6 separate regions of the Homo sapiens genome follow, and regions 1, 2, 4, 5 and 6 are each linked to region 3. Evidence: promoter capture Hi-C in human tissues and cell types (Jung and others, 2019). All regions are on one chromosome and are shown on one strand. Each heading gives the region's core, a stretch centred on a gene start or on the middle of the fragment in contact. The rest is flanking DNA. Distances are from core to core; before and after follow the strand shown.

Evidence for each region. Contacts are between HindIII fragments. The study calls those that stand out against the background at their distance.
Region 1: a fragment that was not itself captured here is called in contact with the fragment with the promoter of CUL9 in region 3 in 4 of the 25 tissues and cell types used here (dorsolateral prefrontal cortex, mesenchymal stem cells, mesendoderm cells and 1 more).
Region 2: a fragment that was not itself captured here is called in contact with the fragment with the promoter of CUL9 in region 3 in 5 of the 25 tissues and cell types used here (H1 embryonic stem cells, IMR-90 fibroblasts, lymphoblastoid cells and 2 more).
Region 4: a contact is called between a fragment that was not itself captured here and the fragment with the promoter of CUL9 in region 3, in 1 of the 25 tissues and cell types used here (spleen).
Region 5: a fragment that was not itself captured here is called in contact with the fragment with the promoter of CUL9 in region 3 in 5 of the 25 tissues and cell types used here (aorta, dorsolateral prefrontal cortex, lymphoblastoid cells and 2 more).
Region 6: a contact is called between a fragment that was not itself captured here and the fragment with the promoter of CUL9 in region 3, in 1 of the 25 tissues and cell types used here (H1 embryonic stem cells).

Annotation. Positions count from the first base shown.
Region 1 is chr6:42,952,018-42,954,717 of GRCh38, forward strand. All of the region lies in intron 1 of CNPY3-GNMT (CNPY3-GNMT readthrough), which reads left to right. Among named protein-coding and RNA genes, the nearest start is that of GNMT, 7.4 kb to the right of the region's middle. The HindIII fragment of the contact is 5,528 bases long and covers 1-2,700 here.
Region 2 is chr6:43,313,666-43,316,365 of GRCh38, forward strand. No RefSeq gene overlaps it. Among named protein-coding and RNA genes, the nearest start is that of CRIP3, 6.2 kb to the left of the region's middle. The HindIII fragment of the contact is 4,386 bases long and covers 1-2,700 here.
Region 3 is chr6:43,180,923-43,183,622 of GRCh38, forward strand. It overlaps CUL9 (cullin 9), which reads left to right and starts at 1,274. Exons shown (of 41, transcript NM_015089.4): 1 at 1,274-1,327. It overlaps SRF (serum response factor), which reads left to right. Exons shown (of 7, transcript NM_003131.4): 7 at 1-584. RefSeq lists an enhancer at 945-1,014 and silencers at 1,265-1,404, 1,425-1,474. The HindIII fragment of the contact is 4,480 bases long and covers 1-2,619 here.
Region 4 is chr6:43,384,088-43,386,787 of GRCh38, forward strand. No RefSeq gene overlaps it. Among named protein-coding and RNA genes, the nearest start is that of ZNF318, 16 kb to the left of the region's middle. The HindIII fragment of the contact is 5,313 bases long and covers 1-2,700 here.
Region 5 is chr6:43,029,868-43,032,567 of GRCh38, forward strand. No RefSeq gene overlaps it. Among named protein-coding and RNA genes, the nearest start is that of RRP36, 9.6 kb to the left of the region's middle. The HindIII fragment of the contact is 7,304 bases long and covers 1-2,700 here.
Region 6 is chr6:43,331,497-43,334,196 of GRCh38, forward strand. No RefSeq gene overlaps it. Among named protein-coding and RNA genes, the nearest start is that of CRIP3, 24 kb to the left of the region's middle. The HindIII fragment of the contact is 3,101 bases long and covers 1-2,700 here.

The DNA of each region.
Region 1 (2,700 bases), core at 193-2,692, 230 kb before region 3:
TCTGTCTAGTGGAGGCAGGGTAGCTTTTTGATGGCCAGGGGTGATGTCTTCACCTGGAACTGGCTGGAAGCTTTGTTGCATGATCAGCTGAAGCTTGATGGTCTCTAGGCAAGAGGAAATGAATTTGGTTAAAACATTTAATGGGAACTGCAGGGGGTGGATACCTATGCTGTTAGAAATGTTTGTTATATTGACCAGGCGCAGTGGCTTACGTCTGTAATCCCAGCACTTTGGGAGGCCGAGGCAGGCAGATCACGAGGTCAGGAGTTCAGGATCAGCCTGGCCAACATAGTGAAACCCTGTCTCTACTAAATACAAAAAAATTAGCCGGGCGGGGTGGTGCATGCCTGTAATCCTAGCTACTCAGGAGGCTGAGGCAGGAATGTTGCTTGAACCTGGGAGGTGGAGGTTGCAATAAGCTGAGATTGAGCCACTGCACTCCAGTCTGGGGGCGAGGGAGTGAGACTCCGTCTCAGAAAAAAAAAAAAAGAAAGGTTTGTCATAGAGATTTGCAGGAGAAAAAAAACTTGGTCTGTTTTAGAATCTATGTGTTTCCTTAAAGTCCTAGCATGAGCGACTCCATTTTGGTTTGGTTTGTTGAGGCCTAGTGCATGAGCCTAGTCCAAAACAATGGCCTTCCATAATTTTGTTTAAAAAATTACCCTTTTTGGTTAGGCTGTCATTTAAGTGAGAGTGTGACCAAACCTTAGGGACTTAGCGCCACTCTCAGTTACCATCATTTTGGGTTTCCTATCTCAGCACATCATTTATAGCTTATAGTGTCCTTATGGTTGCACATTTTTTTAGCTCCTGTTATTCCAGTTGAAGAGAGACCATTTGACATTCTAGAGATGGCTGCACGCAAGCATTTAAAACCTTTGAGAGAATAGAGCGCACCAGGGAGACTATTATTATGACTATCGGGAGGATGATACCAAGAGTTTGGAGTATGCTCCTTACCCAGGTTCCCCATAAACCAAACCACCTAAAATCACATAGATCAAAGAATGAACTAGATAAAGAGTTTACTCATGGCCGGGCGTGGTGGCTCATGTCTGTAATCCCAGCACTTTGGGAGGCCGAGATGGGCAGATCACCTGAGGTCGGGAGTTCAAGACCAGCCTGACCAACATGGTGAAACCCCGTCTCTACTAAAAACACAAAATTAGCCAGGCATGGTGGTGCATGCCTGTAGTCCCAGCTACTCGGGAGGCTGAGGCAGGAGAATCGCTTGAACCCGGGAGGCAGAGGTTGCGGTGAGCCGAGATCGTGCCATTGCACTCCAGCCTGGGCAACAAGAGCAAAACTCCGTCTCAAAAAAAAAAAAAAGTTTACTCATTTGACTAAGCAGTCTCTTTGTTAATCCCCTACCACTATATTTCTATAATCTTCATGTGATGTATTTCTCCGTAGGCCACAAGTGCCAGCAGCTGCACAGATACTTCTCTGTTTAGCCAATTCTATCTTAACTTTCACAAGAGAATTTAAAGTCTATTGTATAACTGTAGCCTTTACAGTAGAATTTGCTATAGAACCCATCATGAGGGATACTTTTTTTTTTTTGAGACGAAGTTTCGCTTTTGTTGCCCAGGCTAGAGTGCAATGGCACCATCTTGGCTCACTGCAACCTCTGCCTCCCGGGTTCAAGCGATTCTCATGCCTCAGCCTCCCGAGTAGCTGGGATTACAGGTGCACCACCATGCCCAGCTAATTTTTATGTATATATATATATATATTTTTTTAGTAGAGATGGGGTTTCACCACATTGGCTAGACTGGTCTCAACCTCCTGACTTCAGGTGATCCACCTGCCTCGGCCTCCCAAAGTGCTGGGATTACAGGCATAAGCCACCGTGCCTGGCCCCATTAAAGTTTTTTACCTGCACTGGGCCTTCATTTTTTATCTATTAAAGTATAAAGTTATCCATATATAAGGTTGGCTGCAAACTCCTTCACAAATAAAAGTACATCCCATTAGTGCACATAACAGATGCCTTTTCCACTTTTATTGTTCATAGAGGCATAAGCAAGAACAAATATTGAAAGATAAGAGTTTTATGACAGTAGAAGTCTTAATCTGTGAATTTGGGAAAAGCTTATTTACATCAAAGATGCCATCCTCGGTCAGGCGCAGTGGCTCACGCCTGTGATCCCAGCACTTTGGGAGGCTGAGGCGGGCGGATCACCTGAGATCAGGAGTTAGAAAGCAGCTTGTCCAACATGGTGAAACCCCGTCTCTACTAAAAATATAAAAATTAGCCTGATGTGGTGGCGAGCACCTGTATACTTGGGAGGCTGAGGTAGGAGAATCGCTATTATAAAAAGTAGAGGTTCCTCTTCAAAGACTTTCCTCCCCATCTAATTAGGGATAAATAGTAACTTCTCTTAGAAGCAAAATTTATTCAAAGATCTGTGGTGACATTCTTAAATATCTGCAAGTCATAATAAAGAAATCAATGTCCTTTATGTTCTTAGCTCCCACAATGTAGCCTAAATATTTGCCCTGGCATGCTTATACTGGTCCAAACAAACATTAGGTCATAGCCTGTTCCTCATCCTTATTTGAAGGTGTTTTTACCTTTCTCAGCATTCCACAAGTTACTTCCCCTTCCTTTGTTCTCCTCTGCCTTTGCCTCTTTTAAAAGTTCTAAGTTGCTAGCCAATCGGGACAAATACAAAATGTGAAGTCCCATTCCAGCCA
Region 2 (2,700 bases), core at 67-2,566, 130 kb after region 3:
TATTTCAGTGCTTAGGAAAGACTAGTTGAGGCTCCACCCTTCCAAACACTTGCACTATGCATTTGCAGGTACAGCAAATTACAGTAGTCCACTTTTCTTCTTTGCCTGGTTTCCATTATTGACTCGAACAGAAGCTATGTAAAGAATAACTGGGAAAACACATTTCTTGTAGGAATGCATTTGAGTTACTGACAGTGGATGTTTTGAAGAACAGTTGGTGTGACTAAAGTCTCTAAAATGATATTTTAATAAATACTACAGATGGGTAAGTCCACCTCAAAGAAGGTATTACTCAATTGTTAAGGTGCAGTTTGTGTCATCTCCCATTAGAGGCAGGCCTCTTTCTCACAAAGACCACTGTTCCCTTAGTGCCCGCCCTGCCTTTTTCCTGCACAGACCTCTGTTACAGTATCTGTAACATTGTATGACACTTGTTTACTTGTTTGACTTTGACAGAACTGATGGAGAATTATCTGTGTATCTTTAACAGTGAGTGCAGTATAGGTAATCAGTAAATGATAGCTATTATTATTAAACTCTCCCACTAACTTTACTTCATGTTTTTAAGCTCTATTATTAGGTACATAAATGTTTCAGGATTGTGTTTGCTCGAGGAATTAACCGTTTGATTAGTGTTGTTAGAAAAGCTGAAGAAACAAGCTTTTCCATTCTAGGTGAGTAAGTGGTCCCGTAGAGATAGTGACTTCTAGTCCCTGGAGGGCTGTCACATGGAAAAGGCATTAGGGGTACTACCAAGACCCCTGGAGAGAGAACACAGGGAAGCAGATTTGGATTAGGTCCCCTCCAAAACCCTTTTAATAGAGCCCCAATATAGAGTGGCTGCTTCAGACAGTGGTGAGCTTCCTGTTTCTGGACACAATACTGGACAATAAACCAACTGATCCTCAGTGTTGCAGAAGGTATCCAAATATCATATGCAGATAGAACTTTAAAGCCTCTTCATGATTTAACAATTATGATTCTGTGATTCCTTTCCCAAAAAGGAGCTTGAAACTTGTGTTAGAAAGAGGGCATTACTAGAGCTGATGAAGGGTAGAAATGTTACATTCCCAATTGTATAAAAAAGAAAGTGGCTTGGTAAGGTTACGAAATTAGTAAAACATTTGGCCAGGTGCGGTGGCTCATGCCTGTAATCCCAGCACTTTGGGAGGCCGAAGTGGGAGGATCACCTGAGGTTAGGAGTTCGAGACCAGACTGTCCACCATGGTGAAACCCCGTCTCTACTTAAAATACAAAAAACTTAGCTGGGCGTGGTGGCAGGTGCCTGTAATCCCAGCTACTCAGGAGGCTGAGGCATGAGAATTGCTTGAACCTGGGAGGTGGAGGTTGCAGTGAGCCGAGATCGCACCACTGCAGTCCAGCCTGGACGACAGAGCAAGACTCAGTCTCAAAGAAAAAGAAAAAAAGAAATGTGTAAAACATCATACAGACCCAAGCATTCTGACTCTTGAGCCCATACTCTTTCCACTCTATACCCCCCTAAGCATGGTTTTTGCCCATGTGTTTCAACCTGAAAAGACACTACACTTGTCTGCACAGCACCTCCATACCTGAAGATAAGAGGGCCTATCCAGGAAAATAATGGGTTGAGATGCAAGGGGCAGGGAAATGTCATTAAAACCTTTCCATGATTTCTCAGTATCCTCAAGACAGGACCCTCCACTTTTCCAGTCTTCTAGCCATTTCTCCTGTTGCATCGACCCCTCCATCCACATCAAATGAGCTTCTTGAATCTGTTAAGTTCTATTCTGCCTCAGGGCTTTTGCAAAGGCCATCTTTTCTGAGAATTCACTTCCCCAGTATCTTCACCTCATCAATTCCTACCTAACCTCAGCTCCCCCTCAACTACTCCACACCAGGTTATTGACCCCAAGCACTGTTTCTATACCACCATCCTCTCCTGGAGGGTAGAGGGGGCCCAAACTATGACAGCTGTGTTTTCCCTGAGTGCTGAACCAAATAAGAAATAAAAGACAAACAGAGATCCTTTATTATTATTATTATTACTATTTTGAGACAGTCTCATTCTGTTGCCCAGGCTGGAGTGCAGTGGCATGATCTCAGCTCACTGCAATCTCTGCCTCCCAGGTTCAAGTAATTCTCCTGCCCCAGCCTCCCTAGTAGCTGGGATTACAGGAGTGTGCCACCATGCCCGGCTAATTTTTGTATTTTTAGTAGAGACAAGGTTTCACCATGTTGGCCAGGCTGGTCTTGGACTTTTGACTTCAAGTGATCCACTCACCTTGGCCTCTCAAAGTGCTGGGATTACAGACATGAGCCACCACCCAGCCCATCATCTTTATTATTGATAAAGGACAGGTTGTAGTTTAGAAAGTGAAATAAATATGGTAACTTCCTGCCTACCTCCTCCACTCCAATCTGGGCTTTGTCTGCCCCCTTAGTCTGTGAGATCCATGAGAGCAGGGACCAGGCTGCTTTGCCAACCATTGCATATATTTCCAGTGCCTTGCTCAAATCTCTGGCACATAGTGCTCAACAAATACTTGCTGGTGAATGAATGTTACATGTTATATACAAGTCCCCCTGAGTGTGATAGATGAGTGCTAGTGAGAGATGTGGGAATAAGAGGGGACTGGTAGAGGTTGAGAGTTGGTAACAACGAGTGTCCTGGAGTGAAGGAAGTTCAGCTGCCTAGGAATAAGGTCTCAGGAATTTGTT
Region 3 (2,700 bases), core at 24-2,523:
TGCCAAGATGGAAGTCACCTTTCTGGGCTTTCTCCTGGAGATAGCTGGGGCTTATGGGTGGCTTTCAAGGCTGGGGCATGGCAAATCAGGGGCCAGAGAGCAGGGGAGCTTGGGACTCAGGTCTGTAACTGCCCAGCCCCTTTTCTCTGCTCTTGTTTCACTCCACCATCACTCACTCACTCCCCACTCCCCCACCCATGGGGAGGAGACCTTTGATGAATTCTTCCTCTCCTTCCCACAAAAGACAGACCCAGTGAGTGAATCAGGCAAAGTGCTTATAATGTGTGTTGTGTGAGCGTGGCCTTGGGAGGACATGCGTGTGTCAGGGATGAGTTGAGGTGATATTTTTATGTGCAGCGACCCTTGGTGTTTCCCTTCCTCGGTGGCTCTGGGGTATGTGTGTGTGGGTGTGTGCGCCTGAGTGAGTGTGTGTGCTTGAATGTGAGTGTGTATGTCAGTGGTTTCTACTTCCCCTGGGATGCTGACCCAGGAATAGTGGACATGGTCACAGTCCTATGTACAGAGCTTTCTTTTGTATTAAAAAAAAATACTCTTTCAATAAATGTATCATTTTTGTGCACAGACTGTGGGGTCTTTGGTTCTGTTTTTCTACTTAGGGAGGGATGGGGGTATGAACGCGAGGCAAACTCCTAAAATTGCTGCTCTGAGTAGCGATCCGGGCTGCTTGATGAGAACGGTAATGCTAAGGTGTGCTTTGGGCTGTTTAATTCTATACGATTTAATTTAAGGAAAGTTTTGCGGGGCCGAGGACCTTCTCCCTGTGCGTGGCTTCGCTAGGTGTTAAGGCCAACGCAGAGGAGCAAATTTTAATTAACAGGAAAAGTGACACAACTAATCCAAAGCATTGCTGAAGGGTTTGGGAAACTCATGGGCACCTGACCTACTGAAAAGTCAAAAAGGGCAGCCTTAAGGTGGGAATGTGGGTTACCATGTTTCGTCAGCATGATCGCTGTGATGGGAGAGGGAGGATTAGGAGGGCCGACCCAGTGAAGAGGAGGGGGCTTCACAGTTGACTGGATGGAAACGGCTTCTTCCTGCTGCTGAGAGAGGAGCAACGTGACCTCGATCCCAGGCTCCTCCGGTAGCGCGCCCCCACGCCCCTCTTCCAGTGCAGCCGCCCGCGGTAGCACGCATGCTCCACTCGCGCGCTGTTCCGCCACGCTCGGCGTGGGCCGCGGTGGGACCCGTAGGTGCCCGGCCGTGCGTGCACTCGCCGTGTGACCCGGAAGGGAGCTCTGAGGAGGCGGGGCCAGGACGGCGGGACCGGCCGCTGGGTCCCAGCGAGGGCTGAGCCGGGCGGTGGGAGGTGAGAGGAGAGTTCTGCGCCGACCCAATCCCTCCCCTTCTCCTGTCCCCTCCCCGGTCCTTTAGCCACTGTCCATGGGGCTGACGAAGGGAACCAGGTCTTGCTCTCTGAGATTCACTGGATCTTTTCAGCTTTTTTGGACCGCGCCCCCAACCATCCTTCCCCCTCCCCCCAAACCCGTTCCCTCTGCGGTGCTGGCCTCCTCCACCTCCCCACGGCTCTGCAAGCTTGGGCTTGACCTTGCTATCTGCTGGTCTCATCCATGCGTCCAGAGCTCACCCCCACACCTCAGTTTATTGTTGCTCTTCTAGGCCGACGTTACACCTCCTACCTCCTCCTATCCGATTCTTTTACTTCCCCCTGCTGCTAATCAGTTGCCCGCTGGCACATCGCTGGCTACCATCCAGGCTTGCCCCCCATCCTAAGTGGACCCCTACCTCCATTGAGGTCCACATCCATCTTTCTCCCTCCTCTTCACCTCTACTCTCATCTTCTGTCCCTGTACCCCAACATGACCCCTGCCCTGACCACTATATCTTCATCTGGGTTTACCTTCTTCCATTCTTATTCTCACTATTCCCTGTTGCCCCTGCACTGCTTCATATCACGCATATCTTTCCTGATTATTCCACTCCCATTTATAATCGGTCTTAATAACTTTGCATTTATTTGATGACTCCCCTACCTTCTCCATCTAAGAATAATAACAGATTATGTTTACTGAACACTCTTTATGTGCTAGATGCTGTTCCAAGTGCTTTACATACATGATCCTACTAAATTCATGAAGTAACTATGAATATTACTACCATCTTGCAGAAGAGGAAACAAGCTCAGAGGTTAAGTAACTTGTTCCAAACTATGCAGACAGTGAGACAGAAAGCCAGAATTCAGAGTCACATTTATCTGATACTGAAGTCTCTGAATATTGCTTCTCTCCTGACCTCATTTCCTACCTTTAACCCCATGATTACCACCTCTATCTTATCTACTTAACTTACTTAAATCCTTACCATACATGCAGTATAAGGGCAGGGTGGGACCTGGTCATCTTTCCCATAATTTTATCTGGTCCCTAGGGCCCTCCCCCTTTCACAAGACTCGAATATACTTTTCCTATCCAGTCATTTGCCCCAACATCCCAGCCTTTTGTCATCTCCATTCTCTATATCTGCCATGGCCCACCCTTTACATCCACCTTGCAGCTTTACTCTGTCATTTATGCTCCCTGTCCTGCCCCTCCGCTATCCTACTTTTCCTCACATGTTCTGATCCCACTGCCTCACATGCTGCTGTCCTTCCTGTCCACCCATGTCATTCTTCTAAGTCCTAATCTGTAACCCTCAGCCACCCTGCTATCCTGCCTAAACTGT
Region 4 (2,700 bases), core at 59-2,558, 200 kb after region 3:
AAGTAGAGTGGTATCTGTGGTCTGCAACTGAATCATGACAGATACTGTCACATTTGGGAACCATTTTAAGAAGTTCTTCCACATTATACTTCTCCAACTTCATTTTAATATCACTTCTAACTCCCTAATCATCTAGCCAAACCATTAACCTCAGACTCTTTTTTTTTTTTTTTTTTTTTGAGATGGAGTCTCGCTCTGTCACCCAGGCCGGAGTGCAGTGGCGCGATCTCAGCTCCCTGCAAGCTCTGCCTCCCAGGTTCACGCAGCTGGAACTACAGGTGCGTGCCGCCATGCCTGGCTAATTTTTTTGGGGTTTTTTTTGTATTTTTTAGTAGAGACGGGGTTTCACCATGCTAGGCAGGATGATCTCGATCTCCTGACCTCGTGATCCACCTGCCTCGGCCTCCCAAAGTGCTGGGATTACAGGCATGAGCCACCGGGCCCGGCCAAATCAGTGTAGACTCTTAACCTGTTTCTCCTTCTGGGAAAACTGGTCAGGTAGTTGTATTTCTTGAAGTCCTGACTATCCTCAGTGTCCTTCAGGGTCACCCTTGATTGGGGGCCACAGTATCACAGCAGCCCATTTCTTTCTAATGCCAGCACATTAGGTGAAGACAGCTACAAACTAATCATGACTTTATTCCACTGCAGTCTGGTAACAAGGCCCATTTCATTGGTTATAGTGGTAGATGAAATAGCAATGCAGCAGAAGTAGTGGTGTGGGTGCTAGGAGCCATTTGTGTTTTCAGGATCTGCTGTGGCCTCATTTTGTGTATGTCATTTCTACTTGATAATGGATCCATGTCCTAGGTATGAACCAGCTTTATACCTAGGAAGACCAGATGATAGCCAGTTCATGATTATGCTGTGATCATGCTGGGTTCCATGATCATGCTGTGTCCGTGGCCCAGCAGCAAGCTGAGAGCTGATTCTCAAAGAGAGAATATTTACCTGCCAAAAGGCATGCTCAGAGGGCCTCTGCTATGATTATTCTATCAGGACATGCCATAGATGATAAAGTACCTCAGTCTGCCACAAACACTTTGAACATTATAAGGATCGCAAGGACTAAGTTGCACTGCAGACTGGACCAGCTGGAGAACCTTTTCTTCCTCTGAATCTCACTCAAGTATGGCTTCATTTCAAGTGACCAGATAAGGAGGTCAGAGCAGTAACCCAAATATGATCAATGTTGTCTCTAAATTCACCTAAGTGATGTGACTCTTTTGGTTTAGGGGTAGGTAGCACAAGTAAAGCAACTTGTCCTTCATTTTGAAGGGAGCACCTGTATGCAAGATCACTAAACATCAAGAAATATCAGTGAAGTGAAAAGCCTTTGTACTTGAACCTCCCTACCTTCCGGTATACATATATTTCCTAAAGCGTGTAAGATACTTGCTATTTTTTACTCCATATGCCCTATTAGTTTGATGTCATGAGTTCAGTGGGCCAGCATATCTTGTGAGATGGTAAGATGGGTCAGGATCCCTATGTGCTAACTTGTAGCAGAGTCAGAAAGTTCATGTAACCATGAGACAGTGTAGATTGATGTGTGTTATATCTGTTGTTTTCTGCTATTAAGCCAAAGAAAAATACTTCACTGGATTAATGTCTTCCTTTTCAATTGCATTTATTTGTTTATTTATTTATTTTACCTTCTTGCCTTCATCAATGTCTTGTTTGTATTTCGTACTTTTCTCTCTCTCTCTCTCTTTCTCTTTCTTTTCATTTTTTAAGAGATAGGGGCCGGGTGCAGTTGCTCATACCTGTAATCCCAGCACTTTGGGAGGCCGAGGCAGGTGGATCACCTGAGGTCAGGAGTTCAAGACCAGCCTGGCCAATATGGTGAAACCCCGTCTGTACTGAAAATACAAAAATTAGCTGGGTGTGGTGGCAGGCACCTGTAATCCCAGCATTTTGGGAGGCTGAGGCAGGAAAATTGCTTGAACCCAAGAGGTGGAGGTTGCAGTGAACTGAGATCAAACCACTGCACTCCAGCCTGGGTGACAGAGCAAGACTCTATCTCAGAAAAAAGAGAGAGAGAGAGAGAGAGAGAGATGGGGTATTCTGTGTTGCCCAGGCTGGTCTCAAACTCCTGGGCTCAAGTGATCCTCCCACCTCAGCCTCCCGAAATGCTGGGATTATGACTGTGAGCCACCATGTGTGGCATCCCTTTCTTTTCACTAACACTCTCTCAAAATAGATGTAACCATTCTTCTGACTTCTAATATCCTTGATCAGTTTTTCTGATTCTTGAACTTCATACACTGGCAGTGTATAAGCACTATACCTGCTCCAGATTCTTGCCAAATATTGGTATTGTCAGGTTTTCTTTTTAATGTAAGCCTTTCTAGTAGATGTAGTACTGTTCTGTGTTTTCTTAGATTCAATTCTGTATTTGTGTATTTGGTATCCATTAATCATAGGGCCAAACTGCCAGCCAAAGTTGTTTACATGTCCCCTGGATCCAGCTTTCACAAGCACACAAAAATCCTCCAACAAATCCTGACATAGAAAACTGTGTTTTCTTAGCAGATGTGATCGTATAGTTTTGTAACCTCATTACTATTATAAATGTAAATAATTCTCATACTTTCTCACCTCTAGAGGGAGCTTCTTTCACAGTTATTCTTGTTCTTTGGCAGCAGTTTAAATGAGGCCAGACTCAATCTCTTTTTGAAAATAAACCTAGCAGAGTTA
Region 5 (2,700 bases), core at 161-2,660, 150 kb before region 3:
CCTCAGACTCCCAAAGTGCTGGGATTACAGGCGTTGAGCCACCGTTCCGGCCTTAAGGCCTCTGCTTTTATGTGGGATTTGTGGGTAGCCTAGAACTACTTTTTAGTGGGCCACATATTGGGATAGGCAATAAAGCCTAAGGCATCTACAACTGGGAAGTCAGATCAGAAACCCCTCCCACTTAAATCTGGGCCCCTCAAGGATGACAAGATCATTTAGTGGGTGAACCAATCCCACAACTCCCCTACTTGGCTTTGGTTTTGGATGCAAGGGATGTTAAGAGGTAGGGATATAAAGCTTCCATGGTAATATACAAGCACAGCTGGCCTTCAGTACTGTTTGGGACAAGAGTTTATAACCCATGTGGTCTGGAAAATCCTCAGGCTGATAACTTAGTTTAAAATAGTCTCAAGTAGGCTGGGCGTGGTGGCTCACACCTGTAATCCCACCACTTTGGGAGGCCGAGGCAGGCGGATCACCTGAGGTCAGGAGTTCAAGACCAGCCTGGCCAACATGGTGAAACCCCATCTCTACTAAAAATACAAAATTAGCTGGGTGTGGTGGTGGGTGCCTGTAATCCCAGCTACTCAGGAGGCTGAGGTAGGATAATCACTTGAGCCTGGGAGGTAGAGGTTGCAGTGAGCCAAGATCGCACCACTGCACTCCAGCCTGGGCAAAAAGAGTGAAATCACCACCGCGCCCCCCCCCCCAAAAAAAAATGGCCAGGCATGGTGGCTCACACCTGTAATCCCAGCACTTTGGGAGGCAGAGGCAGGTGGATCACGAGGTCAGGGGTTCGAGACCAGCCTGACCAACATGGTGAAACCCTGTCTCTACTAAAAATACAAAAATTAGCCGGGTGTGGTGGTGGGCGCCTGTAATCCCAGCTACTCAGGAGGCTGAAGCAGGAGAATTGCTTGAACGCGGGAGGCGGAGGTTGCAGTGAACCAAGATCGCGCCACTGCACTCCAGCCTGGGCGACAGAGCGAGACTCCGTCTCAAAAAAAAAAAAAGTCTCAAGTAGATAGTGTCTCCAGGGTCCTGGCAGAAGCAAATGTAATCCTTTCTTGAGGATTGTTTTTTTTTTGTTTGTTTTTTGTTTTTGAGATGGAGTCTCACTCTGTCGTCCAGACTGGCAAAAATTAAAATGTGAGAAGTATAAAATAAAAAATACAAAATGTCTTATGTTTAAAGAAAAAGTGTGACAAATGAATATCAAAAGGTACTAAACTGGTGTGATTAAAAAGTAAAACTTAAGGCCGGTCACGGTGGCTCACGCCTGTGTTCCCAGCACTTTGGGAGGCCAAAGCGGGTGGATCACGAGGTCAGGAGATGGAGACCATCCTGGCTAGTACAGTGAAACCCTATCTCTACTAAAAATACAAAAAATTAGCCAGGCGTGGTGGCGGGTGCCTGTAGTCCCAGCTACTCTGGAGGCTGAGGCAGGAGGATGGCATGAACCTGGGAGGCAGAGCTTGCAGTGAGCCGAGATCGTGCCACTGCACTCCAGCCTGGGGAACAGAGCGAGACTCCATCTCAAAAAAAAAAAAAAAAAAAGTAAAACTTAAAAAGAAAACCTTTTAAAAATGAAAAGTAGGGCCAGGCATGGTGGCTCGTGCCTGTAATCCCAGCACTTTGGGAGGCTGAGGTGGGTGGATCGCCTGAGGTTGGGAGTTCGAGACTAGCCTGGCCAACATGGTGAAACCCCGTCTCTACTAAAAATACAAAAAATTAGCCGGGCGTGGTGGCGCATGCCTGTAATCCTAGCTACTTGGGAGGCTGAGGCAGGAGAATTGCTTGAACCTAGGAGGCGGAGGTTGCGGTGAGCCAAGATTGCGCCACTGCACTCCAGCCTGGGCAACAAGAGTGATACTCCACCTCAGAAAAAAAAAAGTACACTACGAGAAGTTAGAAACTTTATGGTTAAGCAGCAGATTAGACTTCTCCCTAAAGGGAGAATGAACTGGAAATAGATCTGAAGTTACACAGAGAGAGCACTGACATACAGAGAAGTGGAAACTAAGGAAAAGAGGTTAAAAAACATGGAAGAGGCTGGGTGTAGTTGCTGACACCTGTAATCCCAACTTTTTGGGAGGCATAGAGAGGACTGCTTGAGGTCCTCAGTTGGGGACCAGCCTGGGCAACATAAGGAGACCTTGTCTCTAAAAAAAAATTAAAAAATCAGACATGTGGCACATGCCTATAGTCCCAGCTTCTCTGGAGGCTCAGGCTGGAGGATTGCTTGACCCCAGGAACTTGAGGTTGCAGTGAGCTATGATGGCATCACTGCACTCCAGCCTGGGTGACAGAGCAAGATCCTGTCTATAAAACAACAAAATGAAGATAAATGTGAGACTTGACAATCAAAATTTCAGGAAAGAATATTTCAAAGAGGCTGGGCATTTTCTAGAATTTTTTTTGAGATGGGGTCTCCCTCTGTCGCCCAAGCTGGAGTGCAGTGGCACGATCTTGGCTCACTGTAACCTCTTCCTCCCAGGTTAAAGCTATTCTTCTGCCTCAGCTCCCTGAGCAGCTGGTATTTCAGGTGTATGCCACCACACCTGGCTAATTTTTTTTTTTGTAGGGATGGGGTTTCACCGTGTTGGCCAGCTGGTCTCAAACTCCTGACCTCAAGTAATCCACCCACCTAGGCCTCCCAAAGTGATAGGTTTACAGGTGTGAGCCACCGCACCTGGCCTA
Region 6 (2,700 bases), core at 19-2,518, 150 kb after region 3:
TTCAGGAATAATTTATTCAATGCTAAATAAGGTGAGGAGTGGCAAGTCTAAAATACATACCCTCTATGTACATTCTAATCTTGTTCATCCTCTACAGGTACAACAATATACACATTCACTCACCCAACTCACCATTTCCTGGCAGCTAAAATGACAGGATCTTCTCTACAACTTATCCCCACCCCCATCAGTCATACCCACCTTCTGGAAGTCAGATCCTTCAGGTGATTGCCTACTGGCCACAAGGGCACCCATCATTTCCGTGGCCTCTGTGGTTTCTATCCCTGCCTTTCTGGGGGCAGAAATGTCTGCTGCAGTCCTTCCTTTTGGAAATCTGAAGACTTTTGGAATTGCCCCTGAAAAGAAAGGAAGATAAGTGGGTGAGAGTCTGTAACAATGTGACCATAGTCATCCTTAGGAAGGTGGTTACAGGAAGGCTGGGTGGAAACTTAGCAGGGACAGAGTGTCAGAGAGACGAAATAAAATAATATCTTAATATGGCTGATTTTATCTCTGCTTTCTCCACATCCTCTACCTTTTGTTCTCCCGTTATGTAACTCTGCCTCTGTTTTCACCCTGTTCGTTCACTTCCCTTAAACATACTCATTTCCCTTATTTTCTACAAAACTTCTTTCTTGCCTAATCCTCCACAAATGGAACCAAAGCCTGTAAATCTTTAAATCATTACATCTAGATGTTATCTTCTGTCCTTTTGCATGCGACAGACTTTTTTTATCTTTTGTGTACCTGTATTACTTTGTGAAACAGGTATCTTGATTTATATCATTTAATGTCCAAGTGCTTGTACAACATTAATGAATATGAACAACCAGTTCAACAGAGGTTGGGGAAAGAATGGGAAGAGGAAGAGAGGAAGAAGGAAAGAATGGTAAGACATTCCTGAAGAAGGTATGTTGCCCAGCATCGATGGGAATAGAAGAATTTAGGAAGTCTTGAGGGAAAAGCAGCAGGACCTATTTGTAATGATGGAAAACAGACAAGAGGTGTGAAGGAAAACAGGGATGCACTGAGTAGGAGAGACACAACTTAAAAAAAATAATTTTAATACAGAAAAGTATACAGAGGGGTAAAAAAAAAACTGGCCTATAATTCCACAGCACTGGATAACCCTTACTACATGTTATCATTTTATACATGTATGTGTGTGCATGTGTATAGTTTATAAAACATTTATATTTTATAGAAAATGCATTTTCATGGTCACAATGTTGAAACAAAACAGAAGATACAAAATAAAAAGTGATAGCATTCCTTTTCCCTCTCCCAAAGGCAACCTTTTTTGGTTACGATTTAGTTTTGATGAGATGACAAGAGGATGCTGGAGACCATAAACTGTTGAATTACTTCTTCAACCAAATCAGAGGGGTTTGGGGTTTGACTGACTTCAGCATGCTTATGAAGTCTGGCTGGAAGGAAAAAGGAGGCCATTTGAAAACTGGATCCCCAAAACCTTTTGTTTTTGCTAACTGTAAGGTCAGTTTAACTCCTTCTCATCCTCAGTTTCTCTTCTAGGAGCTGCAGAAGCAGTGTTCCCATCATGGCCTGGTGCCATTATTCCAGAATGCTGTTGAAGTGAGGGAACCAATGGCAACCTTGACATGCCTCAATGATACAGTGCTTTGTATACAAAGACCCAGGACAGAAGCAAGAGGACAGCTGGCTTCTAGAGTGCTAAACACCCAGAAAATACAATAGGCAATTTACAGTTTTTACTGACTTATAATTTGCTAAGTATTCACAATTTGTTAATAAAAACAGCTACTATTACCACATTGATTCTTTCAATGAATTTTTATTGAGTACCTGCTATATGCCAGACAACTGTGCACTGTGAATACAATGATTAAAAAAATAGTAAGCAAAGACAGACTTCTTGCTTTGGGGAGTTTATCATGTACTTAAGGGGAGCATATATTAATCAAAGAAACATAAATGTAAAATTACAACCACATTAAATGCTACAACATAAACATACATGTTTTATATGTATTCTTCTGGAAGTGTATATGGGTTGAGGGCAAATCAGGAGAGTTGTGATTTTAAGAGTAGAAGATTTTCATTATAAATTCAACTTCGTGGCTTATCGATGAATATTGTATACACAACTTAGTTAAAAATTACATAAAAATTACTGCAATTTTAAACTCTAAAGAGATGTGCTCACAAAACTATTTGTCCATGTTCTCACATAAATCGTTAATAAATGAAGACTTTGTTTAGGTTCTTATCCTAGATTTAGTATGTAAGCTTTGTTAAGGTGAGAACCAAGGTTTAGGGATATATATTAATATATCAACAAAGCTTGCCTATATATGTTTATATATATATTATCTATATTATATATATAAAAGAAACTATACTATATATAGTATATATAAAACTATATACATATATACATATATATATATGTAAAAGAAACTACCTCACTTATTTCTGTTACAGGCTACATCCTCTCTGAACCCTCCTCCAATTTTTAAAATTACACTTTATGTTCCTATTGGATGCATGTGTCCTGTATGTCCACCTCCCCACCCCATTCTTCCTCAGTCCTGGAATCTGGCAGACTGATAAATTGACTATGTGCTGGCATGCTCTGCTACCAAAATACTAACTTTCTGACTTTTTAGAAAGATGAAGTGTCATGGGCGAAGTAATACTTAACTATATTATTCAGCAATA